Regions from separate parts of the Homo sapiens genome. Here regions 1, 2, 4 and 5 are each linked to region 3. The links are contacts of gene promoters, found by promoter capture Hi-C in blood cells and fetal thymus (Javierre and others, 2016). All regions are on one chromosome and are shown on one strand. The core of a region is centred on a gene start or on the middle of the fragment in contact, and the rest is flanking DNA. Distances in the headings are between cores, read along the strand shown.

Region 1 (3,825 bases), core at 1,115-3,614, 310 kb after region 3:
AAGTAGAAGAAGCGATGAATTTTTAATGTCCCATTCGAACTCCAGCTCCTACTCACCAGTCTCTCCGCATGGAGAAGTGGCCGTCATGGTCGACCTGTTCCCAAGGGTGGCCTTGTGAGTGCAGGCTCTCCTCACCAGAGCTGAGGGCTTTGTGAACCTCTGATGTCAATAGATGCCCCTCATCTTCCAGGAGGACAAAACAGGGCAAAGCAAGACATGGGGTGAGAACAGGAGTGCATCAGTGGGGTTCCCCAAGCCTGTGTCAGGTCCGGATCTGGGTGGGAGTTCCCTTCTGCGTCATCCAGGCCAGGCGAGTGGGCATCCTCCCTGAGCACCTGTGCTTGGGGCTTTGCCTGTGTCAGTCAGGAAGACAGAGTACACGGAAGAGTTACCATTGCTTTCAGAGCAAACCTTCCTTTGACATGCATTTAACACAGCACGGAGTGATTGACATGTGTCCTTGTGTTTAATCCCTATCTTAACCTCTCGGTTACTGTCCTGTTTATCAGTGAGGAAACTGAGGCTTATTGCTTGCCTGAGGCCTCAGTGGCAGAAGCAAGATGTGAATCCGCACCTGTGTGATGCCCAAGCCAGAGCTCTTGTTTACTACCCAGAGAAGATGAGCACAGGTGGGATGTACGTATGGAGGGCGGGTAGGGCAGCAGCCCCTCTGAGGACAGGTGGCCAGAACCCAAGCGGCGAGGTTTGTTCACAGCCTCCACAGGGTGGGGTGGGGCCATCCGCAGAGGGTCTCCTGCCATCCCATTTTCCCTGCATACCAGTGGGTGGTCTGAGAGCCTTTGCAGAGAAGAGACTGGATCTCAGCACGTGCTTATGTGCGTGTGTACATGCACACACATGCGTGTGATTCATCTGGCTCTTACTTTATGCCAAGGAGCCTGTCACATGCTTTAAATGTATTTTCCCTAGTTTAATTCTTAGAGCACACTGCAGGAGGTAGATTCTGATAAATCCATCTTACAGGGAAGGAAACAGACTTAAGTAGGTAAAGTCACTTGGTTGAAAACATGGAATGAGTAAGCCAAGGGGCAGGTATTCAAACCCAAACCCAGGTCTGTGCCCCTGCAGAGCCTGCAGGAGCAGCCCACACAGGCCAAGGCTGTGAGGGGTGCTGTTTGCACGCGTGCGTGGCCCTCCCTGCAGCCCAGGTGCCTAGGTCTGGGCCTGGCAACACCAGAGCACGGGGCCTTGCCCTCGGGGAACAGCCCTCTTTTGTCCTCAGGCTGTGGGATGTGTCTTGGCTACTTTGCTGCCCAGCAGTGCCTGCTCTCAGGCACATGTGAGAGTAGAGGCCTAGCATCCGTGGCCACTTCCTTCCCAGCCCATTTGCTGCTGCCCTTTGCTCTGCAGGGCTGCTGGGCTCCTGGGCTCCACGCCTGCTTGCTGCCTGCCATCAAGGCTGGCAGTGCTCTGGGGCTGTAAAGGTGCAGGCGCCGTACTTCCCAACCCCTGGAGCTCGCACATGGTAGGAGAGAAAGCTCATGTGCATGCAACATCCAATAAGACTAAAAGTGACTGGGGGTTGCTACGGGAGAGGTGCTGAGGGTGGGCCGGGGACAGAGCAGGCACACTGTGGAGGGGGTGGGCAGGACTCCTGAGACCAGGGCAGGGAGGGAGGAGATGCTGGGAGGCACAGGGCCATCCAGAGAGCTGCCACTTCCTGAGCATTGCCATGCACGCTGCAGGCATGGCCATCTTGAGTCCTCACACTGCCCGTGGCCTAGGTGGGGTCTTCATCCCCACGTTGCAGAGGAGGAAATGGAAGTTAGGAAGGTTAGGTGACGTGCCCACATGAGTGGTGTAAGCATGGTTCCCGCCCTGGGCTCTCTGAATTCAGTATTGTATGGGGGAGGCTGGGAAGGTGAGTTAGTACTCTCCGCAGTGAGAACCTGCCTTGGCTCCCCTCCCCTCAAGGAGTTCATAGCCGTGGGAGGGAGGGAGACAAGAACTGTTGGAGACAAGAACTGTTAGAGACCAGAGAGCAAGGGCGTGATGTGGTCTGCAGGGAGGAGGCTGTCTGAGGCAGAACCGGGTCAGGGAGGCCATGGTGCGGGTACCCTCCAGGCACGGCATTTGGCCTGACTTTTGAGGGGTGCCCAGGGTTGGCTACATGGCGGGGCGGAGGTATCTTTAGTGGGGGAACAGCGTTGTGCCACCAGGAGGGGTCTCTGTCTCCCAGGTAGAGGAATTCTCCATGGTGAGAGGTGGTGGTGGGGGATGGTCTAGCTGTCCACTCTTGCCCCCTTTCGGATTTGGAAGGAAGCCCCATGCTGGGTCCACACTGGTATGGCGTATTAATTAGGCAGCTGCTTTGTCTGGGAGGGGGCTTTGTGTCGAGTCTCCCTGAATGAGCAGGGCTGGCGACAGTTGTCAAAACACATGGTGCTTGGTCAGAGCCCCCGTAGAAGCCCCTTGTCCTCCGCATGGCCTCCGCCTGCACCCGGGGCGTGGAATGTGCTCTTGTGTGTCCCTGGCTGTCTGCTTGCTTCTACACTGGCCCCTGCAGATGGAGGGGGTGGGGTACAGGGGTTCCTATAAGAAGCAGACACTTGGGGTTTTTCCCAGGTCCTGTTGCAGGAGGGTGCGTGGGCTGGTTTCCCTGAAGGCGCCTGGGCGTGTTGGTGTTAACTGATCTGAGATCTTCTGTGGCCCTGATGTCTATGAGCATGCCCCAGCTTGCAGGGGGCTGAGTAGCCGGGCACCACCAGGAGGCTGCGTGCCCTGTGCTTGGGTGTACCCATGCCCTGTCAGCATCGTTGGTCTGTTAGGGTCAGGGACTTCGGCTTCTTGTTTAGTACCCTCCATCCCTTCCAGTTGATCATCAGAAACATTCTCCTTAGATGCGGCTGCCTGACCCCGGTGAGGGGGCCTGCCTCCCACTTGCCTTCCAGCCTCCTCTAAGCTGCACTGAGTCTTAAAAATAGGAAGGATAGGGCTGGGTGTGGTGGCTCACGCCTGTAATCCCAGCAGTTTGGGAGACCGAGGCGGGTAGATCACTTGAGGCCAGGAGTTCAAGACCAGCCTGGCCAACATGGTAAAACCCCATCTCTACTAAAAAGACAAAAATTAGATGGGCATGTTGGCATACACCCGTAGTCCCAGCTACTCAGGAGGCTGAGGCATGAGAATCGCTTGAACCCAGGAGGTAGAGATTGCAGTGAGCTGAGATTGCGCCACAGCACTCCAGCCTGGGTGACAGAGCGAGACTCCTTCTCAAAAAAAAAAAAAGGAAAAAAAAGAATAGGAAGGATAGGGCATGGCATGTTCTCCAGGAGACAGAGGGACGGGGGCATCTTGCTTGCAGGAAGCCAGGCGACACAGGCGTGTGTGCAGGGCTCAGAGGGTCTGTGTTCCTGGCCTTTCCTGGGAGGGCTTGCTCTTGGGCTGCCCAAAGCTCAAAGAGAGACTCGAGGAAATCCTGCATTTATGGGAGCTTTTCTTTTCCTGCCACTTTCCTGTTCTGGGTTGTATCTGTGCACGTGATTGGAACGTAGCAGCCTGAGCTCCTGCCTGAGGAGAGCAGCCACGGGTCACGGAAGCCAGGGTCCAGCTGGGGCCTTTGGGTCTAGCTGGCAGATGAAGGGCTGGCCTTCATCAAGAAAACAAGCCCCATGAGGGCAGGAGCCCGACCTGTTCATTCCACACCACCGAGCCTGGTGCTCAGTCATGTTTGTGTGACTGAGTGAGCCGGCGGCGGGCTGAGGCGCTTTTGTCTGGTGTGCGTACTGGTCTCCCTTGAGGCAGCTTGGGGGTGTGGAAAAAGCACATGTTGCCAAAATTGACAGACCTGGGTTCAAATCCAAG
Region 2 (3,732 bases), core at 982-3,481, 390 kb after region 3:
CAACTTGCCTTAAGTGATTGGTCAAATGGTTGCAGTCAATCTGTTACCAGTCTAAAAGGCTGGCTCCTTTCCTGTAACTGAGATATGCATCCTCGATGGGCTCTTATTCATTAGTGTTGGTTATGTTTCTCATCAGTTGTGAAACAATATTTTCTTTTGTTTTTTTTTTCTTTTGTTTTTTTTTTGAGACAGAGGCTCACCCTGTCACCCAGGCTGGAGTGCAGTGGTGCGATCTCGGCTCGCTGCAACCTCCACCTCCCGGGTTGAAGTGATTCTTTGGCCTCAGCCTCCTGAGTAGCTGGGATTACAGGCACCCACCAACATGCCTGGCTAATTTTTTTGTTTGTTTGTTTTTGGTTTTTTTTGAGACAGAGTCTTGCTCTGCCGCCCAGGCTGGAGTGCAGTGGCACCATTTCGGCTCACTGCAAGCTCCGCCTCCCTGGTTCACGCCATTCTCCTGCCTCAGCCTCCTGAGTAGCTGGGACTACAGGCTCCCGCCACCACGCCCAGCTAATTTTTTGCATTTTTGGTAGAGACGGGGTTTCACTGTATTAGCCAGGATGGTCTCGGTCTCCTGACCTCATGATCCGCCCGCCTCGGCCTCCCAAAGTGCTGGGATTACAGGCATAAGCCACCGCGCCTGGCCTAATTTTTGTATTTTTAGTAGAGACAGGGTTTCGCCATGTTGGTCAGGCTGGTCTCGAACTCCTGACCTCGTGATCTGCCCTCCTCGGCCTCCCAAAGTGTTGGGATTACAGGTGTGAGCCACTGCGCCTGGCCTGAAATAATATTTTCGTGAGCCTTTTTTCTTTTTCTTTCTCGTTTTTTGAGACAGAGTCTCGCTCTGTTGCCCAGGCAGGAGTGCAGTGGTTTGATCTTGGCTCACTGCAACCTCTGCCTTCCAGGTTCAAGTGATTCTCCTGCCTCAGCCTCCCAAGTAGCTGGGATTTCAGGTGCCTGCCACCACGCCTGGCTACTTTTTGTATTTTTAGTAGAGACGGGGTTTCACCATGTTGGCCAGACTGGCCTTGAACTCCTGACCTCAGGTGATCCACCTGCCTCAGCCTCCCAAAGTGCTGTGATTGCAAGTGTGAACCAACGCACCTGGTCACCTTTTTTCAATTTTAAATAGTTAATGTAGGCCGGGTGTGGTGGTGCACACCTGCATTCCCAGCTACTCGAGAGGCCGAGGCAGGAGAATTGCTTGAACCCAGGAGGCAGAAATTGTAGTGAGCCAAGATAGCTCCATTGCGCTTTAGCCTGGGCAAAAAGAACAAGACTCTGTCTCAAAAAGTATATATAATAATAATAATAATAATAATAATAATAATAAATGTATATATTTCTCAATAGTCTTTCTATCAAGGTATCCTTCCCATAAAATAAAAGATGCAGATATTAAAGGTATAGTTCACTGATTTTGAGAACTGTGGAGACCTATCTAACCACCTCCTCAATTAAGTTTCCTGGTGTCCAGGAAATAGTGGCCTCTCTTCTAGTTCCAGGAAGCCACTGGCCAGTGTCACTCCTGACCATTTTTTTGTTTTGTTTTGTTTTGTTTTGTTTTTGAGATGGGGGTCTCACTCTGTCACCCAGGCTGGAGTGCAGTGGTGCAGTCTCCGCTCACTGCAGCCTCAATCTTCCAAGCTTAAACCTCCTGGGCTCACCACCTCAGCCTCCCGAGTAGCTGGGGCTACAGACACACGCCACCATGCCTGGCTAATTGTGTATTTTTTGTAGAGAGAGGGTTTTACGATGTTGCCTAGGCTGGTGTTGAACTCCTGGAGTCAAGCGATCTGCCTGCCTTAGCCTCCCAAAGTGCTGGGATTACAGGCATGAGCCACTGGGCCTGGCCACTGCTGAGCATTGACTAGCCACCGAGGTTCTTTTGTCTCAAAATAAAGAAGAGGGAGTAGACTGATTTTTCTTACTTTATGCCTCTTTTAGGAAATAATTTAGATGAAAAGTAGCTAATTGCACACTAGGTGGTTGTAGAGATTTAAAATTCAGGCTCCATGAATGTCATTTGTTGGTCACATTTTGGTTATTTTTTATACACAGTGAAGGTAATTCTGGGGCTGCTTTTTGTAAATCAACATTCTGATGATGAAAATGACACTTAGAAATCTCACTTTGGCTGGGCACGGTGGCTCATGCCTATAATCCCAACACTTTGGGAGGCCGAGGCGGGCGGATCACCTGAGGTCAGGAGTTCGAGACCAGCCTGGCCAATAGGGTGAAACCCCGTCTCTACTAAAAATAGAAAAAATTAGCCGGGCATGGTGGCAGGCACCTGTAATGCCAGCTACTTGGGGGGCTGAGGCAGGAGAATCGCTTGAACCTGGGAGGCAGAGGTTGCAGTGAGCCAAGATCACGCCATTGCACTCCAGCCTGGGGGACAAGATCGAGACTTCCTCTCAAAAAAAAAAAAAAAAAGGAAAGAAATCTCACTTTGTTCTTGGCCAGGCGCAGTGGTTCACCCTGTAATCCCAGCACCTTGGGAGGCCAAGGCGGTGGATCACCTGAGGTCAGGAATTTGAGACCAGCCTGGCCAACATAGTGAAACCCTGCCTCTACTAAAAATACCAAAAAATTATATATATCTATATTAGCTGGGTGTGGTGGCACACACCTGTGATCCTAGCTACTTGGGAGGCTGAAGCAGGAGAATCACCTGAACCCGGGAGACGGAGGTTGTGGTGTGTGATCGCACCACTGCACTTGAGCCTGGGCGACAGAGCAAGACTCCATCAAAAAAAGACCAAACAAAAAAACAAAAACAAAAACAAAAAAACCCCAGAAACTCACTTTGTTCTTAAGCTTTTATGCCCATTGGAAATCTCACGACTCTATTTTTATAAATATAGTAAATATTAATAAAACAATCCAATTACCGCTAAGAAAAAGTCTATTCTCTAGTGTTCAGTTCCATTTATAAACTTAGTTAATTAAACTCTCTTAAATATTTTAAACTGAATGCATAATTTTAGAGGTTATTCATTTTTCAGTGTTTCAATTGCTCTATAAACTCATCCAAGTAATTCTTGTAAGTTTCCTAGTGATTCTTGTACATTTCAATGCTTAAACAGTAAAATACATGCATAGCTTTTTCTTCTTCCTTCCTTTCCTTCCTTTCCTTCCTTTCCTTCCTTTGCTGAACAATTGGGCCCTAAAGCTATTATGTGGGGCTGAGCAAGGTCATGGTGGCCCTGAATGGGCTGATTGGGGTGGGATGTCCTTGGGAGAGGTGTTTGGGGGTCAGGGCTGAGCAGGATGAGGAGCGCTCAGCAGAGGCTGCGCGTAAGTGCCCAGTGAGGGCCAGCAGGACACGTGACAGGGAGCCTGCACTCCCAGCATGGGAGGAGGACACCTGTGTGGGGTGGGTGCCCGACGAGGGGCATTGGAACCAGCCTCGGGGGGAGGTGCCATGTGGGAGTCAGAGATGAGGACTGGAACTGCTTTTTTTTTCTGGGAGGGAGTTACAGATATGGAAAGGGAGAGGTAGGCACCAGCCCTGTGGAGCTGGACTGGAAGTGGAGGCATTAGCGTGAGCTAATGGTTTGAGGATTGGGTTATTTGGTGGGGCAGGTTTGGACTCTTTTTATTTTTATTTAATTTAACATATTTATTTATTTATTTAGACAGAGTCTTCTCTGCCACCAGGCTGGAGTGCAATGGTGTGATCTCGGCTCACTGCAACTTCCGCCTCCCAGGTTCAAGCAATTCTCCCAC
Region 3 (3,363 bases), core at 707-3,206:
TCTGGTGGTGGCGGAGGGGAGCCCCAAGGCCCAGAGAGTGCGGCCGCACGCCGTCGCGGCGCCCCGATGCCTCCGCCAGCCCCGTTGAAGCGGAAGTGGCGTTCAGGGCCGTCGGGAGCGCTAACCCAGTCGAATTTGGGCTTCGAGCCTGGGAAGGTGGTGTAGGGTGGCGGCGGTAGGGCCCGGGCTTGGGACGCAGGCGCCGAGGGAGGACCAGAGCACCCTTCGCCGTCTCCATCACCTCCCTCGGCTTCCTGTGCCCCTCGAGAAACCTCTCCCAAGGGGCGAGCGGCTCCAGGAGGCAGGGGCCCTTGCTTCAGGACCTCGGCGTAAGAGATGGCACCTGAGGCAGCAAAGAGGCCGCCGCCTCCGCCGCCCCCCAGCGAAGCTTTGGCTGCTAAGGAACTCGAGGCTGCCGGAGGGGCCAAAGAGGGCCTCGACTTGAAGGTGATTTTACACAGCAGGCTCAGACCGGACTCGGAATCCGCAGGCTGGGCCATTTCGCCTTCGCCCGCATGGGGAGGCGCCCCTCCGCGAGCCCTGCCGGCCGTCTGGCCCTGGTTGCGGGGCCCAGCCTGGCTTTCTGTCGGGGGTGAGGCGGGTGTGGCCAGAGCAGGAGTGATTCTGCGGTCCGCCGGCTGCCGTTCAGAAGGTAATGGTGGTGGCGGCTTCCAAGTCTCCAGGGGCGGCGGAAATTGGGATGGGGCCCTCGGGACAGTGTCCTTCACGGATAGTTGCCGGGGCGGCGGCGGCGGCTTCAGCGGGCGGAGGCTCGGAGGGTCGCCCTGGCCGCGATGGCTCGCCTCCAGCAGGCGGCGGATCCGGGGAACTGGAGTGCCCGCGGGCTTTTGCCATTTAGACGGGCCGGGCAGCAGAGTCCCCGCGGGGGCCGGGGGTGGTGCAGAGACCGCGGCCGCCTCTTCAGGAGGGGGCATCACTGGAGAGGGCCGTTCTAAGGTGAGGGGCAGGGTCGAGGGTGAGGCCTGGGGCTCCCGGGGTACCATGAGTCCCGGGGGTGTGGCGCTGCCAGGGAACCAGACACCCAGCCCACGAGTCAGGCGCATGGCCTGGGAGGTCATCTCGGGCTCCACCAGGGACGTCCGGCGGGAGTCGGGGGCGCGGTCCGAGGGCTGCACTTTTCGGGAGCCCCCGCCCGCGGATGGCTCCGACTGCAAGTTCCCCATTTCTGACGGAGCTCGGAGACTAGTCAGAAAAATTTACTCCAGTCAGCCTGCCAGGGCCGTGGGGACCCTACGAGGCTGGCTGTACTTGATCTAATGCGTCCGCACCGGCCCCGCCCCTGTTCTCCAAGATCCGATCAGGCCCAAGTCCTTAGGTCGCACTCCTGTTCCCCGACCTTCGACACTCACGCCTTCTTGCCCATGTCCCCAACACAGCTGCTGTTAAGATACTTCACTACCAGCCCCATTATGTACTAAGGTTCCATGCCTGTCCCCTTGGCTGGTCATGCTGATCCCTCAGTCCTCTCCTCTAACTCTCCGACTCCCCGCCTCTCTCTAGAGCACCTGGGTCCCGCCCTCTTCCCAGGCAGGGGCAGATCCTCAGGCCTCACCCCTAAACCTCTTCCCGCTCCAGGTCTACTAGCTGGCATCCACAGTCAAGCTCCACCCCTGTCCCCAAGCTCCGCCCTGGCCCCGCCTCCCCCCAGAGGAACCCACTCACCGAGTCCTCCAGCCGAGCAGAGTTCAGACCGCGGCGCCCTGGGCCCGGGGCAGGGCAGGGAACTGCCGTAGCAGAAAATAACCGAAAAGAACGGGGGTGCGGGTGAAGGCAAGTGGGCGAGACAACTAGGGCGGACCCCGAGATGTAGGCCCCGCCCCCGGAGCTCGAGGCCCCGCCCTCCTGCGAGCCCGCGGGAGCCCGGCCCCTTACGAACCTAGGTCTCCCCTTGAAATACTCCGAGGTCTTGTTCCTCGCCCCCAGGCCTTCTGGTTCTAAGCTCCACCCCTTTGGGTTGTTCTCCTTAGCCCCTCCCCTTTAGAATGTCCCGCCCCTCTCATTCCCTCCCGAGGCCCCGCCCACGCGAACACCGATGCGTCGCTCCTCCCCTTTGGACCTCTCATCTGCCCCGCCCCTAAGGCAATTTACCTCTAAGCTCCGCCTTTTTAAGACCCGGCAACATCGCTTCTCAAGACCCTCTCCTTCCCCCCGGGCGCCGAGAAGGCCCATCCACCGTGGGCCCGCCCCTTCGTGACGCACGCACTAGTCCTCGCCTGCAGCATCCAAACCTCCTTATACCCAGGCCCTCCAACCCCACCCACTTGTGAAGGCTCCCCTCTCGCCCCACCCCTTATCGAACTCTGCCAGGCACCCAAGCCACAGCGTAGACCACCACCTCTTTAGAACCTTGAGACCAGTCCCTGTCCCTGCCCCGTCCCCTCCTCATAGCATTAGAGACCAATGGCGCAGATGGGTGGAAAAGTGGGGGATCCCCTCTGGATCTTAAGAAAATGGGGGCTGGGGGGTTGCTCTCTGGAGCTAGTGCCGGGCTCTAGGACCCAGCAGGCAAGTAAGCCCGCCTCGCTCTTACCCCTCCCCCAAGCCGCCCCTTCCCCCCCCACCCGTCTTCCAGGTTCCCCCTCCCTCCCCCCTCGCCCCGGCTCCCGGTGCCCGTCTCCAGCGCCGCCGGAGCCAGCCAGGGAGCCGGAACGAAAAGGAGGAGGAGGAGGCCGCGTCGCCGCCGCTCGGAGCCCGGCCGGAGCCTCGCAGGCAGGTGCCGAGGGGGGCGAGGGGGCGGGGGCTGACAGACTGCCTGCCCCGATGAGGGGGCGGCCGTGACCGCGCTGCGCCTTCTGCCCACCCAGGCGCCCCCAAGGCCCCGGCTAGGAGGACTAGAGAGTGGGGACCCCCCAAACTGCGCGGCAGCCATTCAGGGTACCAGTCTTCATTTGTGGGGTCTGGACTTTCTCCGAGGATGCCCCATTCACAAAATTCCGTCCTGGACCCTCACCGTTGAGGAACGCTGAGGACCACTCCCCCCGGGGGACACAGGATGTGTGGGGAGCGTAGGCCACCCTGAAATGCCAGTGCCCCATTCCAGCTAGGCCCTGGGGGGACCCCTGCTCTCATTCCCTGCTTCACCTGTTGTCGGGGGAGGCGGGCGGACAAAGGAAGCAGCGTCACGTGACTGCTCATTCACAAAATCCCATCCCATTGAGAAAAGGGGGCTGGGGGCGCTGCAGCCGCCCCTTCCCCTCCTGAAGGGCCCGGGAAACCCAGCAGCCTGCAGGTGGGGGAGGGGGCTAGAGCTCGTCCGGGTCCCTAAGGTTGGGACGCCAGGGTCCCTGTGCTGGATGGCAGTGAAGGGCTGGACACTGATCCCGATTACTGGGCGGAGGGCTA
Region 4 (3,811 bases), core at 952-3,451, 490 kb before region 3:
CTTGAGACCTGTCCCATTCCAGCTCCCGCTGGGGTGCATGCAGGTTGCACTGTAGGTATATTGGGGTGCCCTCTGGCCAAAGACGGGCACGAATCACTGAATTGGGGATATAGCAGTCAGGGGCAAAAAGCCATTCCCGCCCATGACCAAAGTAGTATCGCAATATCTGATAGGGGTTGAGTCCATCCCAGCTAGTCAGTTGTAGCTGGGGAGGAAGCACATAATGGCATTGGTAACGTTTGCTCACCTGCATCCAATCTTCCATGTCCTGCAAAGAATAATGCATGGAGGAACGCAGTAACACTGGGCTCCCTTCCTCATCTTCTTCTATCACATGTGGCACAGAATGGTCAAAGGCAATGGCCCGGTTGTTGACAAGTTTCTCCAGACCCACTAATTTCTGTTGCGCTTGTCCAGGGTAGATGTACTTGGGCACAAACATGGTCTCAAAGGAGAAGAAGAAGCTTGGTATGAAAGGCTTAGGGACTTCCAGTACTTCATCTGATATGCTCATAAAGGAAAGGCGAGTCAGCAGGGCTGGGGGAAGCAATTTTAAACAGGACACTAGGTAAAGACTCTGGTTAAAAGTCACAAGCAGGTCACCCCGGTCATTTGCAAAACAGACTGGGCCAAAGTGCAGTGATGAGTCCAGAATGCCTATGAGTCTGCCATGGAAGTCCCAGATCCGAACAGAGCCATCGGCAGAACCTGTGACAAAAAGACTCAAGGAGAGGCAGACATCAAAGGATGTGATGGCACACAGGTGCAGAGGCAGTGTTTCTATGAATTTCAAGCCATTCTGTGACCCAGAGGACAGAAAATCATGGAACTTCCAGAGACGCAGGCAGTTTGTCTCTGTGATGGCACCCACAGACTTGGGCAAGAGTATCAGATGTGTTAGGTGACAGCTGCTGAGAATGCTGGCGAGAGGCCGCAGTTGTACTTTGACCCCATCAAGCACAGCTTCTGACAGGTGCACATAGTCATCCATTCCATAGGAACAGAGCAGAGAGTTTCCTTGGCCACCAAAAATCCCTCCAGACAGCGTGGAGAGTGCCAGTACAGCGCCAAAGTGCATGAATTTTTCTAATCGAGCACAGCTGTGCTGGGAGAGCACTCTTATCACACCACTCTGGTGCCCAGAGAATATCAGTCCCTCTAGACCCCGCCCCAAGTTGAAATGCCCATAAGCCAGGCATTGTACAAAGTCCTGAGAATTTGGTGAGGTGCCTAAGAGATACTTGGCTGGGCAAGGGCAGCGGGTTGTGTCAAATACCAGAACCTCTGAGCTGCCTGTTGCTACAAAGAGCTCCTCTTTACCTGGGTCGTAGGCCCAATCCACAGCCTGGTCCAGGATTGAGAAGGGCCAGGTGATAACCAGAAGGTCCCCTGTTACTGGGGACACAAAGCGCAACAAGCCATCCTCAGTGGTACACAGGATCCGGAACCAGTTATTTCCACAGCAGACCCGACGCAACTGCTGGGGAGCAGAGCCACAGACATTGAAGAGGCTGTAGAAGCAGGGCAGGCGGTGCAAGGAAAAACTATGGGCAGTTTGGCAGAAGAAAGTAATGCTGTCAATAAACTGGAGCCGGTATAGCTCCTCACCAAGCTCTAGCCGCCGAAGCAGGCTCCCTGAAGTCAGGTTCCACTCCTTGATTAGGCTGTCACTACCAGCTGTTAGCAGGGTGTGGGCCTCTGGTCGGCTGCGGATACAGATCACTCCTGATTGATGGGCCTGGAAACTGTGGAGTGGATGGCCCTGCTGGAGGCTCCAAACTTGGATTTCCCCAGCTTGGTTTCCAGCATAGAGAAAGCCCTGATCAAAACAGGTGAAGCAGCAGGTGATGGAGGAGCCGCTGCTGGTGGACGTGAACCTCTTTACCTCTCCCAGCTGGCCCTTGCCCTGGTGCATAAGGACCCTCACCACCGTCTCACACAGGGCCAGGAGGGAGCCACTGGGACCATTCAGCACGATGTCCTGGACAAGCTCATCACCTGGCATGGAGACCATGTGGGCTATTTGGAGGCCCGTGCCACCTAGCTCAATGACCCAGGTCACCACTGCCCCCAGGATGCCAGACAGAAGCATCTTCATTTCCGGGTCATAGCAGAGGCAGCTGATGTTGAAGCGGCAGGGCACTTTACCCAGGGGTTTGAATGCCCGAAAGTGGTCCCCAAAGAGTCGCAGGATCAGGTCACCACAGTAGACCACGAGGATATGAAAGGAGCCTGCATGGACCATGGACTGGATGGGTGGCAATCGTTCAGTCATGGAGAATGTTCTTTTCTCAACCATGTCCTCAGTTTTGCTCTTCATCCATGCTACAGCCTAGAAGAGAATAAGAAGGAAACTGCCTAGGCCGGGTGAGGTGGTTCATGCCTGTAATCCCAGCACTTTGGGAGGCCGAGGCGGGTGGATCACCTGAGGTCAGGAGTTCGAGAGCAGCCTGGCCAACATGGTGAAACCCCATCTCTACTAAAAATACAAAAATTAGCTGGGTGTGGTGTCGGTGCCTGTAATCCCAGCTACTCGAGAGGCTGAGGCAGGAGAATCGCTTGAATTTGGGAGGCAAAGGCTGCAGTGAGCCAAGATTGCGCCACTGCACTCCAGCCTGCGTGACAGAGCGAGACTCTGTCTCAAAAAAAAAAAAAAAAAAAAAAGATGAAACTGCCTAGAGCTGATGGTAGGGCAGAATATTCCCTTATTTCCCCATGTTTTATGTTAAGGAGGAATTGGAGGACTCAAGTGATTTTATCCCTTGGTGATGGGAATTGGAAATACGGTAGAGGCAGGAATCCTAGGACCCTTTTCCTAACCTTGGTTTACTTCGGGGGAACCATACAACCTACTCAACATGGGGACTATAATTGGAGAAAGGATGAGGAGAGATTTCTGGTTCCAGACCACATTCATCCATGGGGAATATCCTCCTTTGTCAATCTGGGCTAACAGTTATATGGGCATGGCTCTTGGAGAATGGGCCAAGAAGGGTAAGAAAGGCAGTCTTACTTGTATTTCTTTTGTGTTTGATGTCACCCAAGAGAGGGAGGCGAAGAAGTGGGCATCACTGAAGTAATAGCATACACACGGCATATTTTGAGGATAGCGAGACTCTTTGAACAGTACCTGGGACCGGTCACTCAGCACAATCAGGCAGTTCTTTGGGTCTTCCGAAGGTTGCTGGAGAGAGGCGTGGCATAAACTAAGAGGCCAGGGCACAGAGGCACTAAATATATTCTCGCACAAGTCACAGTTGGAGCAGTTCCCAAAGTCATGCTTCCCACCCGAAGGACCTACTCCTGTTACACTCACACGTGCATAACTTATCACCTGTGGCACAGCTATACTTCACAAGCATGTAACAAATCCCCCAATGCATGAGGGAACACAACCCTGCAGAGTCTCTGTGTGCAAATTTCATAGTGTGAACACAGGGAAAAATGATGTTCTTTTCAACATGAAGTTAGCCATGCCTGCCCTCTAACATTCTTTTTTTTGTTTTGTTTTTTAGATGGAGTCTCTTTCTGTTGCCCAGGCTGGAATGCAGTAGCGTGATCTCAGCTCACTGCAACCTCTACCTCCCAGGTTCAAGCGATTCTCCTGCTTCAGCCTCTCAAGTAGCTGGGACTACAGGCACATGCCACCAGGCCCTGCTAATTTTTTGTATTTTTAGTGGAGATGGAGTTTCACCATGTTGGCCACGCTGGTCTTGAACTCCAGACCTCAGGTAATCCGCCCGCCTCGGCCTCCCAAAGTGCTGGGATTACAGGCATGAGCTACTGAGTCCAGCCCCCTCTAACATTCTCG
Region 5 (3,517 bases), core at 536-3,035, 460 kb after region 3:
CTGCCTCAGCCTCCCGAGTAGCTGGAATTACAGGCCCTCGCCACCACACCTGGCTAATTTTTTTGTATTTTTAGTAGAGACGGAGTTTTGCCATGTTGACCAGGCTGTTCTCGAACTCCTGACCTCAGGTAATCTGCCTGCCTCAGCCTCCCAAAGTGCTGGGATTATAGGCATGAGCCCCCACTCCCGGATGGAAAGTCTTTTAGAAAGACCAGAGACTCCAACCCATACCATTAAGAACCGACTGCTCCTTCCTAAGAGAAGTATCTTACACCCACCGACAAAAGCCTCTGGTCATCAGGAGAAAGATTAACTCTCTTCCGCCTCTCCTGGGCTCTGGGGCCGGCCCCCTGTCTGAGAATCACTGGGCAGAAGTGCGTGGAAGGTGGGTAGAATTGGATTCTATTTCAGGAGCGATCCACGCGAACCACAGGGTGAGGCACTCCCGCCAGGTTAGCAGCTCCCACAAATGGGAGTTCTAACTCCAGCCCTGCCCCTCACTAGCTGTGCCACCTACAGTAATTCACCTCATCTCATCTCTCTCCTGGCCCATTTCCTCCTTTGTAAATCGGGAATCCCAGTATCTCCCCCAACCTCAGGAAGCGTTAAGGATTTTCAATTAAGATGTCTTTAAAATGTGTGGGACAAGGCCAAGATTAAAACGCTAGCAACTCGTAACCCCTAAACCCTGGAAAACCCTGCAAATAGGCGGCCCTGTAAGACTTCAAGATTTTGGAAAGAGTGGGGACTGGGCCCCACTCCAAAAGCAACGACTGGTGTTTTCGGAGGGACTGATTACAGGGGGTCGAAATGCTTCCAACATGGCCAGGAAATAGTTTGGTTTATCAAATCCTCGGTACCCAGTGAATCCCCGGAAACTGTAAGCAAACTTGTGATGGTTTCAAGGCTTCGCTCAACTCCTAAAAGGCTAAAAGTGCATTTCACAAGTCCTCTTCCCATTTTCAATGCCTACAAAAATGAGAGCATCTAGGCTCAAACACATCCATTTCTGTATAGACACAAGGCTGGGCCTTAGAGATTAAGCTGCCATCAGACGGAATTCCCCACTCTAGAGAACAAGGCCGCCGCCCACCCGTTCCCGCTCACCAGGCGCTCCCCTAACCGCCCACGAGGCCGGGCGGGAACACTGCGCCTGCGCATGGAGCCAGCGAAGAAAATGATAAAGGGGAAAAAAACCGGCCGGGCCGCGTGCCCGGCCCCCACACGCCAGCCCGCGGCGCCTGCGCACTGGGCCATTCGCCTCACGAGCTACTTCCTCTGCGCTCCCCCACACCCCGCTCCGGACCCCGCGCACGCGCAGGCGCCTGTCCTCGCGCAAACCCCGCCGTTTGCCCAACGGCCGCCCCTCCCCCACACCGTCAACGACGCGATGGCCTGGGCGCGTGCGCAGAGGCCCCCCTCAAAAAATAAAATGCCCTCAAGCTGGGAAATTGTCCCCCAGTTCCCGGCCTTCCCAGCGCCTAGGGCCCTGGCCTCACCCCACCGCCGCCGCCGCCCGCCGCCCCGGCTCCTCCACCGCCACCGCCGCCGCCTCCGTGCTGGTCGCCGGCGTTGTCAGTCTTGAGCCGCTTAGGGGCCCGGCCGCCCTCACTGCCGCCGCCGTAGTAGCGGCCACCGCCGCCTCCGCCGCCCGCCGCCGCCATCTTCACCATCGCTCCCGACCGCCTCCGCTGCTCGTCCGGCTGCTGCCTCTGCTCCAGCCGCCGACGCCGCTTCTCCGCCCGGGGCAGCAGCCTCCGCGACATGGCGGCGCAGAACCCGCCTCCCCCCGCCTCTCATTGGGGGAGGGACACGCCCGTCACCCGCCGCCCCCACCCGATAGGGGGAGCCACTGGTCCCGCCGCGGGGGGAGGGTAGGCCGCCACACGCCTTGCGCGCTTATTGGACATTGCCCACGCCGTTCTGCAGGAGGGCCCGCCCTTGTTTGTCTGAGACACTCCTTATAGGTGGTCGCTTTCTGCCAGTCTTTCCGTCGACCCCGCCGCCTTAAAATAAAATCCAATTTGATAGGTCGGATTTCTGGCGCTGCTGGCCTCCCTAAAAGCACCTGATAGGAACGGCGCTCTAAACCTCCCAAGAATCTCCGCCTCCCTCCCACTTTCATTGGTCTCCTCGCTAATCCGTCAGCACCAGTCACAATGACGACCTTCCCGCGCCACTTCGCAAGGAGACAAGGAAGCCCCGCCCTTTTTTGGTCTCTCTCCAGTGGTGGTTACAGATGCCCATTCTTCTGCGTCTCCACTGATTGGTCAATGGAGAGTGGAGCGCACCCTCTCACCAGATGGTAGGACTGTTGATACGCTCTGATTGGATGAAATGGGGAGCCCCGCCCCAGGGTAGGCGCTCTTTGGTGCAGTATACGAAACGAGCGAAGGCGAGAACGCATGCGCAAATACGCTTTCAGGCACCGCCCAGAGGCGGGGCCCCCTTATGGAGCGACCGCTGTGTGTGCGCCGGAAGGCTAGACCAAGATTGACAGGAACTCCCAGGGTATCTCTGTCGCCATCACTATACCGTGTTCATTTCTACCTCTAGGAGGAATTGTTAAAATCCCAAATCTGAGCCTTTTCCTCAGTAGAAAACCACTCGCTGCTGCCGACTGTCTTCGGACCCTGTCCAGTTCTAAATTCAGCCGCAACCCCTTTCAGTTTCCCTTGGGAGAAGGCTCTTCCGCGCACTCTCCATGTGTGCCCATGCAGTCCCTTCCACCTGCAATAGTCCACTACCCCTCCTGCAGGAGCTAAGGGCCAAGTCATCTTGTCCGTGCGATCTAAATTAACAGGTCCCTGCCATCCCAGACCCCCAGGATTCCCTTCAAAGCCATAACTCGGGCCAGTGGTTTTCACCTGACAGCTCGACCCCTCTGAGCACCACAGGAGGTCCTGGCCCCGACCCTGGAGAGGGTGGCCACCTACCAAGCGCCCAGTACAGCACCTGGCACAGTGCAAGCCCCCTGCACAGGGGAGGCGTTCTTGTGATCTGTGCCTGCGTCGGGCCTTTCTTCCTCAAGGGCGGGGTAAGACCACCCGCACTGCACCAAGAGAATGTCGGAGGGTATCTCCAGACTCCGGCGAAGCCCAACTGGCGGAGCCTGGGGGGTGGAGAGGAGCGCGCCCCAGTTATCACGCGCAGGCAGCGGGGTCAAACGGGGATTAACCCGGGATCCCGTCCTACGGCATTTAACATTATGGGGCTGCCCGCGCAGGGTGTGGGGGGGAACACCTTAGCGAAGCTATTGGCAAGTGACGATATCGCCAAAGGGGGGAAAAGAAATAAAAGCGAAGCTAGCGTCGTGAGAAACGCGGCGGACGCCCCAAAAGTGCTCCAGGACCTTTCTGCCCGGCTGATGGGGGATTTCGAGTTGAGGTCCGGGTGGAAACTAAGTTTGAAATGGAGGCCGTGTGTGGTGGCTCACACCTGTAATCCCAGCACTTGGGGAGGCCAAGGCGGAAGGCTCGCTTGAGCCCCGGATTTCGAGGTTGCAGTGAGCCGTGAT

What was found. Contacts are between HindIII fragments. The CHiCAGO score rates a contact against its expected background, and 5 or more counts as called.
Region 1: a fragment that was not itself captured here is called in contact with the fragment with the promoter of GGN in region 3 in 1 of 17 cell types (neutrophils); the score reaches 8.6 in neutrophils.
Region 2: a contact is called between a fragment that was not itself captured here and the fragment with the promoter of GGN in region 3, in 1 of 17 cell types (non-activated CD4 T cells). The highest score is 6.7, in non-activated CD4 T cells.
Region 4: a contact is called between a fragment that was not itself captured here and the fragment with the promoter of GGN in region 3, in 2 of 17 cell types (M2 macrophages and total B cells). The highest score is 6.9, in M2 macrophages.
Region 5: a contact is called between the fragment with the promoter of HNRNPL here and the fragment with the promoter of GGN in region 3, in 7 of 17 cell types (non-activated CD4 T cells, fetal thymus, naive CD4 T cells and 4 more). The highest score is 9.5, in non-activated CD4 T cells.

What each region holds. Positions count from the first base shown.
Region 1 is chr19:38,696,519-38,700,343 of GRCh38, forward strand. All of the region lies in intron 1 of ACTN4 (actinin alpha 4), which reads left to right. Among named protein-coding and RNA genes, the nearest start is that of CAPN12, 46 kb to the right of the region's middle. The HindIII fragment of the contact is 9,950 bases long and covers 1-3,825 here.
Region 2 is chr19:38,775,628-38,779,359 of GRCh38, forward strand. No RefSeq gene overlaps it. Among named protein-coding and RNA genes, the nearest start is that of LGALS7, 4.0 kb to the left of the region's middle. The HindIII fragment of the contact is 1,173 bases long and covers 1,646-2,818 here.
Region 3 is chr19:38,386,078-38,389,440 of GRCh38, forward strand. GGN (gametogenetin) reads right to left here and starts at 1,957. Exons shown (of 4, transcript NM_152657.4): 1 at 1,898-1,957; 2 at 1,684-1,745; 3 at 1-1,203. The coding sequence starts at 1,184. It overlaps SPRED3 (sprouty related EVH1 domain containing 3), which reads left to right and starts at 2,620. Exons shown (of 6, transcript NM_001394336.1): 1 at 2,620-2,730. RefSeq lists a silencer at 1,753-1,992. The HindIII fragment of the contact is 15,577 bases long and covers 387-3,363 here.
Region 4 is chr19:37,893,125-37,896,935 of GRCh38, forward strand. It overlaps WDR87 (WD repeat domain 87), which reads right to left. Exons shown (of 6, transcript NM_001291088.2): 3 at 3,014-3,184; 4 at 1-2,332. It overlaps LOC105372395 (a long non-coding RNA gene), which reads left to right. Exons shown (of 5, transcript XR_935962.3): 5 at 3,516-3,549. LOC107985301 (a long non-coding RNA gene) reads left to right here and starts at 3,704. Exons shown (of 3, transcript XR_001753935.2): 1 at 3,704-3,731. The HindIII fragment of the contact is 3,479 bases long and covers 463-3,811 here.
Region 5 is chr19:38,848,201-38,851,717 of GRCh38, forward strand. HNRNPL (heterogeneous nuclear ribonucleoprotein L) reads right to left here and starts at 1,786. Exons shown (of 13, transcript NM_001533.3): 1 at 1,500-1,786. The coding sequence starts at 1,766. RefSeq lists enhancers at 47-985, 824-913, 986-1,923, 2,074-2,163, 2,494-2,563 and silencers at 1,114-1,653, 1,664-1,923. The HindIII fragment of the contact is 20,955 bases long and covers 1-3,517 here.